Linked DNA regions of Homo sapiens: regions 1, 3 and 4 are each linked to region 2. Evidence: promoter capture Hi-C in human tissues and cell types (Jung and others, 2019). All regions are on one chromosome and are shown on one strand. The core of a region is centred on a gene start or on the middle of the fragment in contact, and the rest is flanking DNA. Distances in the headings are between cores, read along the strand shown.

Region 1 (2,700 bases), core at 140-2,639, 130 kb before region 2:
AAGAAGCTTAGGGGAGAGCTAGGAGAGGGCTGAGGCAGAGGAGGAGCCAGGATCGGGGGCTGAGGAGGAAGGGAAGAAGTCCCATGGGACGTACATGCTGAAAGAGTCTGGTGACATAATCAAGCAGCCACCAGGCCGGGAGACAAAAACCCACCTGGCTGGCCTCAGGCGGGTGACGAGGACCTGGGGAATGCTGCGGCCAGGGGTGGCCAGGCAGACGTCCCACCAGGAGATTGGCCTTGTGGCCACAGTCACAACCCAATTTCCCTAATGAGGCTAGGGAGGGCTCACACCACTCCCTAATGACCCAGGATGACCTCGGCTGCTTCCCCACTCTGCCAACCAGGCATCTGCCCGGTGGTTTCCGAACCCACACTCCAGATCTGCATGACTTTCCATGCGTAGGGCCTGTGCCCACAAACCCCAGGTGGGAAGCCAGGCTGTGGGCTACGGTGTAGGGGGTGGGCACTGGTCTGGAGCCTAGGGGCCTGGGACAAGTTCCAGCTCTGCCCCCAACATGCTAAGTGACCTCTGACAGGACACATGGTGTTTCCAGGGCCTCTGCTACTTCACTCTAGAACAGGCGTGCAGGCCAGCTTCCCTCCAGGGCAGCATGCTTTCGGTTCTCACGCACGTCAACTCCATGACCTCGCCTCAGCTTTTCCTGACTGCCTGCTCCCTACAGACCCCAGGCTGGACACTGGGGGGCCAGCGGGTCCTTGTGTCCAAGGGCATATCCTCACTTGGGGGAGAAAGGCCCGGGAGCAGAGACATGAGAGACAGGGCAGGGAGGCTGAGGGTGGAGGCCGAATGAGACAGAGGCAGGGATGCGTAGGTTCCACCTGGGGGATCAGGAGGTGTGCGGGGAAAAGGTGTAGAGGGTTCTCAGTGAGCGATGGTCAGTCAGGATGAGCGGGAGTTCCAGACAGAGGGAGCTGTGTGGGCAGAGGCCGGGATGAGAAGTTCACTATGGCTGGTTCATGACATGCCAAGCAAGGACAGGCTGCAGAGAACCACATTCCTCTCAGGAGCCATGGGAAGGTCTTGAGTGGGGAATGACAGAGCCAGAGGGTTGGGCAGAGCAGTGGTTCTGGCTGCTACCAGAAGGCTTGCGGGGCAGGGAGGCCTGTGAGGCAGCTGCCGCACTAACTCAGGCAAAAGACGGCAGCGCAGCCCTAGGCAGAGGGCAGCATGGCGAGACAGGGGCTCCTTGTGTCACAGGGCATCTGGGCTGCACAGCACCCCTGCCCCTGGCCCCCCATCCATTGGTTCATCAAGTGTCTTTGATCTTAGGAGGCGGTTGGGCCTGGGTGCAAATCTTGGCTTTGCTACTTCTTCACTACGGACAAGTCTCTTTGCTTTTCAGCCTCCATTTGCTCACCTGCAAAATGGGGTAGCTACATGACACAGACTGTTCTCAGGATCTGATGACTCGTGTCAGAGTCTATGCACTATGCTCAGCTATGATGCGTATGACAGCTTTGCACAGTTCTAGTGATCTGGACCGGGCTCTACATGAGGCGATGTCTTGTATATACGATCTCATTTTAATTCTCGTAAACAATTCTGTCATAAAATATATGAATGTTTGCCCCAGGACTTGTGGCAGAGAAGGACGCCAGGGCTGGGCAAGCTACCTGTTGGCCTAGCCCTCTGGGTTGCAGCTCTCCCTGCCCTGCACCCACAACTCTGGGAGATTTGAAAGTTCTGCAGCTTAGGGGAAATTTATACCACTGATGTGAAGTCAGTACTGGGGGTGCCCCTGGCGCCGGCTCAAGGCCAGGCCAGGAGAGGGGCGTGAAGCTGGGCTTACCAGCCGAAAGAGTTGTTTATGGAGTGGGAGGCTCATAAAAAATAATGGGCTGGATTTATTGTCCCCACCTTGAGGGCCATTCCGGACCGCACAGGGCCAGGACAGGCCTCCTCCGGTAGCACCATAAATCTCTCCAGTAAGCAAGGGAGCTGTTTATTCTCCTGTCCACCTGGTCTGCAGCAGGCAAGGGAGCGAGGAGAACCTGCAACCCCACATGTCCTGCCTGGCGCCCTTGCCTGGCTGATCTTCTCCAAGGAGTGGCTGAAGAAGGCAGGTGCTGAGGCTGGGATGGGATTCGGAGGCATGGCCACACCCTCTCTTTAAACAGGAAGTTCCTAGCCGTGCTGCCCCAGCACTCACAGTTGATAATGGAAAGCCCTGGAACAGGGCAGGGGATGTCTCTGGCCCTGCAGGAGCCGTGCTAGGGCCCCTCAGGTCAAGGCCTGGCCCAGATCCTATAGGAATCCCGTCCCAGGAGCCAATAGGAACCTGACAGCTAGGCACACTGATAGGATCCTATCAATATGTGGCTGAGGTGGCTCAGGAGGGCCCATGGGTCTCTGTCCATTGGCTTGTTTCTTTGAGTCTGCAAGTGGATGGTGCAGGGCAAAAAGAACTGACATTGGCCTCAGAATCCAGCCCCTGATCCTGAAGTCCTGCCCCCCCAGTGCAGCTCAGGGAAGCTCAGTTTTCCCTCCCATGATGGGGACATTAGTACTTATCCAAAGCATGTCACAGGGTGGCTGTGAGCATCAGGCGACCCTGTATGGAAACCACAGCAAAGCTCCAGGAGGGTGGAGCTGGGCCTGTCGAGGACACCTGAGCTGCGGGAGGGTGGGGCTGGGCCTCCTGAGGACACCTGTGGGCTGAGACAGGTTTGGGGGAAG
Region 2 (2,700 bases), core at 102-2,601:
TAAAGTCTATCCAAGGCTCTTCCCGATCTGGCTTCTGTTCCCTCACTCCCAGCCTTGCCACCTCATCTTCCCTCCCTTGCTTTTCCTTTGTCTCTAGCCCCAATGAACTCACATGCCAAGGCCTTTGCATGCCGCATTCCCTCGGCCTGGATGTCTTTTCCAGGCCTTCTCTCCTGGCATACACTCATTCAACTGGGCTGTCCCCACCTCCAGGAAGCCACACCAGATAGCAGTCCTCAGGGGCAGAATAGGCCTGAGGGGCCCGCAGAGGGTGTCCTTGGGGATTGTGTGATGTGTGTGTTGGTGAAGGGAGACCCTACAAGCATTTGTTGAGGGGCTTTGGGCCTCTGAGGAGCCACAGCCCCTTTTCATCTTCCTCTCAGTCTGGGAGGCCCAGGCCAGAGTGATCTGCACCCTAACTATACAAGGCCCTGGAATCCCCGTCCCACCCGCGGCAAGGGGCTGGAAGCCACAGGGCCTTAAACTCCCCAGGGTGACCCCCGACACTGAAGGCGATGGTCTCTGCTCTTCCCAGCAAGGCAGGGCCTCTTTACACTGGGTGTCGCGCCGTCTGAGTTCCTGACTTGTTTACCCATCCCGTTGGGGCTCCGGCCGCTGCAGGCTACCTGCTGTGCCCGGGATTGGGGACCTGTGACTCCCGAGTGGAAGAGATGGTGGCCCAGGAGGAGGACCCCGACCTATTCAGACTGGGAGCTGGGGTCAGAGTGTCTCCGTCTCCGGAGGGGGACCTTCCAGACCCCGGGCGGGAGGGGCCCACAGCAGGGTGCCCCGGCGGCCCCAGGAGGGGGTCCGGGCCTCGGGCGAAGGCTGCGGCGCCCCGGAAGGAGCCGCGCACGCCCCTGCACGCGGTGCCCGCTGCGGAGGCCACGGATCCGGAGGTGAGAGCGCCCCCGCCCCGCTCCCTGCCCAGCCCGCGCGCGGCCCGGTCCGGGGCTGGGGGCGGGCGCCAAGAGGGGCGCCGGGCGCAGTGGGGCGGCCCCCTCCCTTTTCCGCAGCGCGGGCCCCGCTCCTCCTCCCGCGTCCAGGCCCGCGGCCGCGCTCCCTGTCCCTCCGCAGCGGGATGCGGACTCCGAGCCCGGGCGGGGGCCGAGGGCCGAGGCCTGGCGGGCCTGGCGGGGGCCCCGGCGGGTGGCGGCGCAAGGGCCGGGACCGAGGCCGCGAGCGCGCCCCTCCCGGCGGCCGGGCGCGGAGAGGCGGGGAGGGCGGGCGTGGGGAGGCGGGCGGCGGCGGGCGGGGGGAGCCAAGGAGGCTCGGAGCCTCGCGGCGCGCGGGCGGGCGGCGGAGGGGGCGCGGGGAGCCCCCCGCCCCACGAAGGAGGAGTCTGGCTCCCACTTGCAGCCTCGGACGCGCGGCGAGGCGGCCGCCGCCGGAGGAGCCCCCGCCCCTGCGCGCCTCCCTCCCGGGAGCCCCTGCCTCCCTCGGTGCGCGCTGCTGCTCGCAGCCGCCGCGGCCGCCGAAGAGGAGCCCGGGGCCAGGTAGGACCGGAGGCGGGCGGGGCGCGGCGGGCGCGGGCGGGAGGCCGGGCGCGGGGCGCGGCCGGGACCCTCTCCAGGCGCTGGGCGACGCCCGCGGCGCTGCGCAGGGGCGCCCGCAAAGTTACTTTGGCCGCCTTTGCCGGGTGCGGGAAGCGGGCTGGGCACCCCAGCTGCCCCGCCTGCCTAGCGGGCGGCGGCGGGAGGGGGCTCCGCCAGGGCGCGGGACTCCGGCTGGGGCCGCGGGGTCAGCGAAACTTTTCCCTTGCTCGCCAGTCGCTGCTGCTGCTGGCGGAGTAGCTGGTGGAAGCAGCGGGCTGGTGGAGTGCCAGTGATGATGATAGTGGTAACAATAGCAGCCCCCGCTTGTAGAGAGCCTACTGTGTGCGCTGCCAAGCCCCTGCTGGCACTTGGGGGGGAAGAGATAGGGAACGAACGCTGGCCGAGTGGCCACTTTTGCTAGGTATTGCTGGAAACTTCATCCATTTCCTTCCATCCATTCATCCCTCCCTCCCATCCATCCATCCATCCATCCATCCATCCATCCACTCACTCAACACATATTTATTCCTGTCTGCTATGTGCTCGGCCAGGGGATTCAGTGGCTACCTAGACAGGTCCCAGCCCTCAAAGGGAATGTTGATCATGGAATGCCCAAACTAAGGAGCAGTTCTGTCTCCTGTGTGTTTGTTCTGGGACATGTTACGGGAGCGTGAATTCATGCTGTCTCCCTTCACCCTGGCAGGGCCAGAGGCGTGTCATTCAGAGCACTGATGTGCCCAGGAGTCTGGCAGGCCCCGGCCTGGCCTTCGGAACTCACCCTGCTCCTTTCCCTCCCACCTCTCCGGGCTCAAGCTGGGTGGCCCAGTTGGTGTCAGGAGGCTCCACTCCGGAACTGGCCCCCACCCCTGTCCAGCTGACCTCTCTGGGATGTCTCTTCCCCAGTGCTGGGCTGGCCTGGCTCCCAGCTCCCCTCCCAGAGTTTCTTTGCCTTCCCCCTCCCCATTTCCCCTGCTCTATTGAATGGCCCAGAGGAGAGCTTGTTAAGTGGCAAACAATTATGAAATTAAACTGGGGGAACAAAAGTGGGCTGGCTGTTGAATGGCGGAGCTGGCTCACGGGAGTTGAATGGCACTGGGAGACTTGTTAGCAGGGATCTGCGGCGCCGGGGGGCGGGGGCGGGTCAGGCAGACAGGCACTGTCAATA
Region 3 (2,700 bases), core at 126-2,625, 130 kb after region 2:
GACCCAGCCACCAGGGCGGCTCCCACCTGCCCCCAGCCCTTCTCCTCGCACCTCTGCTGGTGCTCTAGATCCACCTGCAAGCCCGAGGTGAGAGAGTGTGTGCACGGGGCCACTTCTCCAGACCCCCCGATAGGATGCAGAAGCCTTAAGCTGCTGGGGAAACCCACTCAACTCTCTGCCTCTAGGACAGGGGTAAGAACCCCTCCTTCCTCCACTGGGAACCTCACCCAGGCTCTGGGGGAGGGGAAGGATCGACATCCTTGCAGAATGGGCAGCGACCCCTTGGGCCCAAGGTCTGCTCCTCTACAAAGCAGAGGTCTGAGGGGATGAGCCCAATAGCCGCCAGAGACAGGAGGCAGAGAGGGCTGCCCTGGAGGGGCTGGATGGGGCCGGAGCAGTGAGAAAGCTTCACCCGAGGCCCAGGATGCCTCCACCCCGTCAGGAGCCCAGCACCAGCAAAGGCAGCAAGAGAGGGAAAGGGACCCCTCTCAGGCACTGATGTGAGCCGAGGGTGGCGCAGGAATGCTGAGAAGACCCTCCGGCAGCCCCAGTCCCGCACCAAGTCCACAGGCCTCTCTTCTGGCCTCTCCTAGTTCTAGACATTTCTCTCTCCAACCTTCACCTCTGTGTCTTCACCCCTCCTCCTTGAGACCAGCTCTACGTCCACCCACCACTCTGTTTTACCCTATCCTTCATCCTGCCCAGCCCTCACCTCCCTCCTGAACAAAGCTTGGAACCCACACAACTACTTCTTCACTCCACTCCTCCCTCCCCAGCCTCCCCCTGAGCTTACTGGGGAAGCTCCTGCTGTAACTGCCAGACACGCCCACAACTCTTCCCCAGTAAATGTCCCTTGCTGCTCTCTGTGGCAACCCCTCTGCACCATTTCCTCTTCTTAAATATCCACTATGGTCCCCTCACTCTCAGCTGATAATCTTACCCCATACTTCATAGAGAAAATATACATTATATCAAATTGACTGCACCTATGCTCCCACCCCACAGCTACAGGAGGAAGTCTCGGCTCCTATCCAGGCCACCCCTCCTCGTGTCTCTGGATGTGGTCTGCCTTCTTGAACTACAGAGGCTGGGCAGCTAGAAGGTACTGTGCCCATTTTTCTCTGTAGCAGACACAACAGACACAACTGCCTGCAAGGTGGAAGGAAGGAATTAGCCCAGGTGGTGATCAGCTCTTCTGGTCTGTTTGGTGGCAGAGGGGTTTGGTCCCATCCCCTTAGCACCACAGTGCTGAGCTCTGCTGGGAGGCAGTGGCAGTGGGTTTCTTCTGGAAAAGCCTCCTGGTGGGGTTGGGTTTCTCTTGGCTGCCACGTTCTTGGACGTGGGGACATCCTTTCTGGTTCTCCAGCCCTTCCAGAGCTTCTGTAAGATCCTAATACCCTTCAAAAAAAAAACCTCTTTCTGCTAAAACTTGCCTGTGTGGATCCTGCAATCTGCAACTAAGAACCCTGAACAATACTCAAAGCAACAAAATAGTCTCCAGATAAATCAGATAAAAAAGATATTCAGTGCTGGGTGCAGTGGGTCACACCTGTAATCCCAGCACTTTGGGAGGCCGAGGCAGGCAGATCACGAGGTCAGGAGATCGAGACCATCCTGGTCAACATGGTGAAACCCCGTCTCTACTAAAAATACAGAAAAAATAAAATAAAAAAGAAAAAAAAAATTAGCCGGGCGTGGTGGCGGGCGCCTGTAGTCCCAGATACTCAGGAGGCTGAGGCAGGAGAATGGCGTGAACCCAGGAGGTGGAGCTTGCAGTGAGCCGAGATCGCACCACTGTGCTCTAGCTTGGGCAACAGAGTGAGACTCCATCTCAAAAGAAAAAAAAGCTATTCAGATCATGTCTGAATTCAGACATGAAAACAGACATGATTATGTCTTTTTCAATGGTGTCTTTTTCAGTGGCCAGGTTTCATGCTTTCTGGCCACAATACAATACAAATAGAACCTGATCATAAAAGATCCTATGTCTGGAAAATGAAACTATCACTTCTAAATAGTTTACAGTTTAAAGAGATCCTAGGCATTATGGCAGCCTAGACATTCTAATAAGCCTCCGTTCACAAAACACCCAGTTGATGGATACATATTTTTAAAAACATATATTTAAATTCATTGCAAAGTTCACAAGGAAGTACAGCGAATCATTAAGGGCCAAGGAAAGCTGCTAACCCCAAAGACGGGTGAACAAAAACCTGAAAGCCAGCTTGCAAAAGCTAATCCTGGGAGGCCAAAGTTTTGCGGATTGATGGTGCTCAGGGGTTGGGAGACTGAGGCACAGGCCTGGAGATCCTGGCATAATGAGCCAGGTTACCTGATGGGCTGTATCTTCAGTGCAAGGCTGGGTGAGGAAAACCTGCATGGCTCTGAGCTCCGGGCTGGGCACAGACCTGGAGCTCATGGCCTGGAGTCTGTGAAACCATTTTGGTTTCTCCATCATGGGACCCCAAGGTGGAGGAACCGAAGCAGCGTCGGGCTGGCAGCATCTTTGGCACTTGGAAGAAGCAAACCCTAATCATCTTCGTAGACAATCATACTCAGTCCAGGCCCCTCAGGATTTCCCCCAGATTAAATTCAGCCAAATATAAGCTCTTTCATGAAATAAAAATCACTAAACACATGAAGAGGCAAGTCACCATAAACATGAGTTGGCAAAAACAAGCTAAGACAGATTTAGACTTC
Region 4 (2,700 bases), core at 159-2,658, 160 kb after region 2:
TAAATTCTATGCCACTTAATCACATCATTACTGAACATTAAACATGCACTCACCGAAATAGGATAGAATACAAAAATAATAAGGAATGCAAATGTTTGGTGTTTGCTGTGTCAGGTACCAGGCAAAGCTCTTTCTACATTCACTTGCTTAATCCGAACAATGAGCCTAGGAGGCACACACCAAACAGTTCTCATTGCTCAGGAAGGGAGCGGGGAGCATGGACCTTGGAACTGGCTGGCATTCGAATCCTAGCACTAGCATTTCTAATGGTGTGACTGGGAAAGAATGTTTCTACCTCTCTGTTTCCCCCTCTGGTACCCCAGAGTACCAGTGGCCTTCCTTCCTGCGTCTCCTTTACCCAGGCACTGAGCTGGGCAACAGGGAATCTTCTCTGGTCCTCACATCACCATGCGAGGCAGCCACAGCTCTCCCTGCTGTACAGACAAAGTAAGTAGGGCTCAGTTCCAAGCTCCTGCCAGCCGGTGCTGGAAATGGAGACTGTTTGACTCCGAAGCCATGCTCCTCCGATTTCACCGAAGTCCAACCACCTACCACATGTGCAAGAACACAGAAGCCTCCTGAAAATCCCAACTCAGCAACACTGACCAGGGCCCATGATGTGCCAGGCACACTCACAGGCAGGAGCAACAGAGCAGTGAGCCAAAACCCCCACTCCTGAAGAAGCTCATGTTTTGAGACGCCCACCCAGTTTCCTCCTCTGCAAATGAGGCTCATTGTCCCCACCACAAGCCTGAACCCCAGGGCCTGGCCCAGAGCCAGGCACACATTCTCATTCTCACTTGCTGAGTGTTGAGTGTTGAGATTCGTCCAGTCCAGTGCAGCATCCTGAGCCAGAACATAAGCAGCCACACTATAAGTTACCTTCCTGGGTGTGTGATGACAGTTAAGATGCTGGTAACATCTGTATTTTGGATTTTCTCTGCAAGACTTATTTGGGACAATACGTTCTTGGATTGGTACCTGGCTTCTTGATAGGATCATGACCTCATAGAATCACTGGTGCGACTCAACTCTGATGCTTAATTGATCCACAAATGGTTGTCGTGGCTCTGGAGGGACCAAATGAATGGGGAGCCTGCCTGGGCTGGTTGCACCGTTGTCCATTTAGTTTGAATATATAGAGGGCTTCCCGTGGAGGCTAGGAATCAAGAAGAATCCTGATCCGGGTTCAGGGGAATGAGGCGGGAGTGCTCTGAGGATGCCGGAGTGGTGATTAACACAAGGCAGGTGCTGGAGGAGGTGAGCAGTGTCCCCCGCACCATGCATTTCCATGGGGCCTGGCTGAGGTCCTGCCATGGGGTGTGCTGCATAGGGCTGGGGCACAAGGGAGAATGAGACCTCATCCCTGCCCTTGGGGACATGGGACTCCCAGGTTTGAGAAAATTCAACCACACAAATTAAAACGATTACGAGAAATTCTGTCTGATGTGCTTCTTCCAACTTCACCAACAGGTTCATGATAGCCTTGTCTTCTGCCTGACACAGCTGTGTTTGAAAGGGGGCTTCTCCAGTGGGGAAGGGGGCCCATGTGACCACCCTTCACAGGGCCCAGGTGGGGAAAGCCTGGTGTGGCCCCCTCACATTCCTGCAAGAGGCATCAGAAACTGTGCCTCCCTCCCTTTGGCGGCCGGCCCTGTGCTACTTCCGGCAGAGCTTGCCTGGCACATGCCGAGTGCCTACCCTGTCCATGCTACTGGGAACCGGGGTTGGAGGGGGACTCATACTCCTTTCTAAAGGGAGGCTTCAGAGCCAGGCCGGACCCAGGACACATGCATGGAAGGAGCTGCAGTGTCGCCACAGCCAATCGGGACTTGGGAGAAAGTTTGAACAACAAAAGAATAACTCTGTAGCACGCTAAGTGAGAGTGAATCTCAGCAGCCTGTGCAACCTCCTTGCCAACTTTCCATGATGATGTGACTTTCATTCTGTTGCTTTTATCACTACAGCTGGCTTTAAGGAGGTGATCCATATTAGTGCAGATACTGGGGCAGTGCTAGGACCCGTGTAGTCACAGATGCTCTACAGGAAGCAGACACCACCCATGCCAAGGTGCCTGGGCTTCCCCCAGGAGGGCAGCAAGCTTACCAAGCTCAAAGCCTGAGGAGGAGAAGTGGATGCATGGAGTCTGCCTGGTTCCCACTGAACCACCACGTGATGATGCCTGTAGGCCCTGCTGGGTGGCCTGCGATAATACTCCTTCTGCCTTAGCGTGGCACAGGGGGCCTAGCAGCCCCTGCACCCTGGCCTGTCTCCAAGGCCCCCCTGAGAGTCCAAGTCAGCCTGAGTTACCCCTCAAGACTTGCCACAGTGCCACCCACCTACAGGATGGCAGGTAGTGAATTTTGCATTGGCAAGTAGAGAGTGAGTGAAATTCAAGGGAAATAGTTAAAATCGCTGAAATTACATCAAGAAGACTTAGCTTTTCTTGCCATCAAGAGCAAGGGTAAATAACAGTAATGCTAATATCTTAATAATTTACTTAATTTATTTACAATTATCTTAGAGCCCTTTCCTGAAAAGGAAACTTCCCCATTCTTTACCATATTCATTGAAAATACGTAGACACCATTATATTTACAATAAAAAGAAAGATAAATTGAAGTAACACTGTTGGCAGCGAATATAAATATGATGTTCATAAAAGATTACAAACATTTTGATGTACTTTACCATCCCTTT

Evidence for each region. Contacts are between HindIII fragments. The study calls those that stand out against the background at their distance.
Region 1: a contact is called between a fragment that was not itself captured here and the fragment with the promoter of MPPED1 in region 2, in 2 of the 25 tissues and cell types used here (liver and mesendoderm cells).
Region 3: a contact is called between a fragment that was not itself captured here and the fragment with the promoter of MPPED1 in region 2, in 3 of the 25 tissues and cell types used here (dorsolateral prefrontal cortex, lymphoblastoid cells and spleen).
Region 4: a contact is called between a fragment that was not itself captured here and the fragment with the promoter of MPPED1 in region 2, in 3 of the 25 tissues and cell types used here (H1 embryonic stem cells, IMR-90 fibroblasts and dorsolateral prefrontal cortex).

What each region holds. Positions count from the first base shown.
Region 1 is chr22:43,276,268-43,278,967 of GRCh38, forward strand. The region is part of intron 4 of SCUBE1 (signal peptide, CUB domain and EGF like domain containing 1); the gene reads right to left. All of the region lies in intron 1 of SCUBE1-AS1 (SCUBE1 antisense RNA 1), which reads left to right. Among named protein-coding and RNA genes, the nearest start is that of SCUBE1-AS1, 1.7 kb to the left of the region's middle. RefSeq lists an enhancer at 1,453-1,953. The HindIII fragment of the contact is 5,790 bases long and covers 1-2,700 here.
Region 2 is chr22:43,410,663-43,413,362 of GRCh38, forward strand. MPPED1 (metallophosphoesterase domain containing 1) reads left to right here and starts at 1,352. Exons shown (of 7, transcript NM_001044370.2): 1 at 1,352-1,496. The HindIII fragment of the contact is 18,974 bases long and covers 1-2,700 here.
Region 3 is chr22:43,543,314-43,546,013 of GRCh38, forward strand. All of the region lies in intron 27 of EFCAB6 (EF-hand calcium binding domain 6), which reads right to left. Among named protein-coding and RNA genes, the nearest start is that of EFCAB6-AS1, 28 kb to the left of the region's middle. RefSeq lists enhancers at 1-127, 128-905. The HindIII fragment of the contact is 3,458 bases long and covers 1-2,700 here.
Region 4 is chr22:43,567,396-43,570,095 of GRCh38, forward strand. All of the region lies in intron 26 of EFCAB6 (EF-hand calcium binding domain 6), which reads right to left. Among named protein-coding and RNA genes, the nearest start is that of EFCAB6-AS1, 52 kb to the left of the region's middle. The HindIII fragment of the contact is 4,174 bases long and covers 1-2,700 here.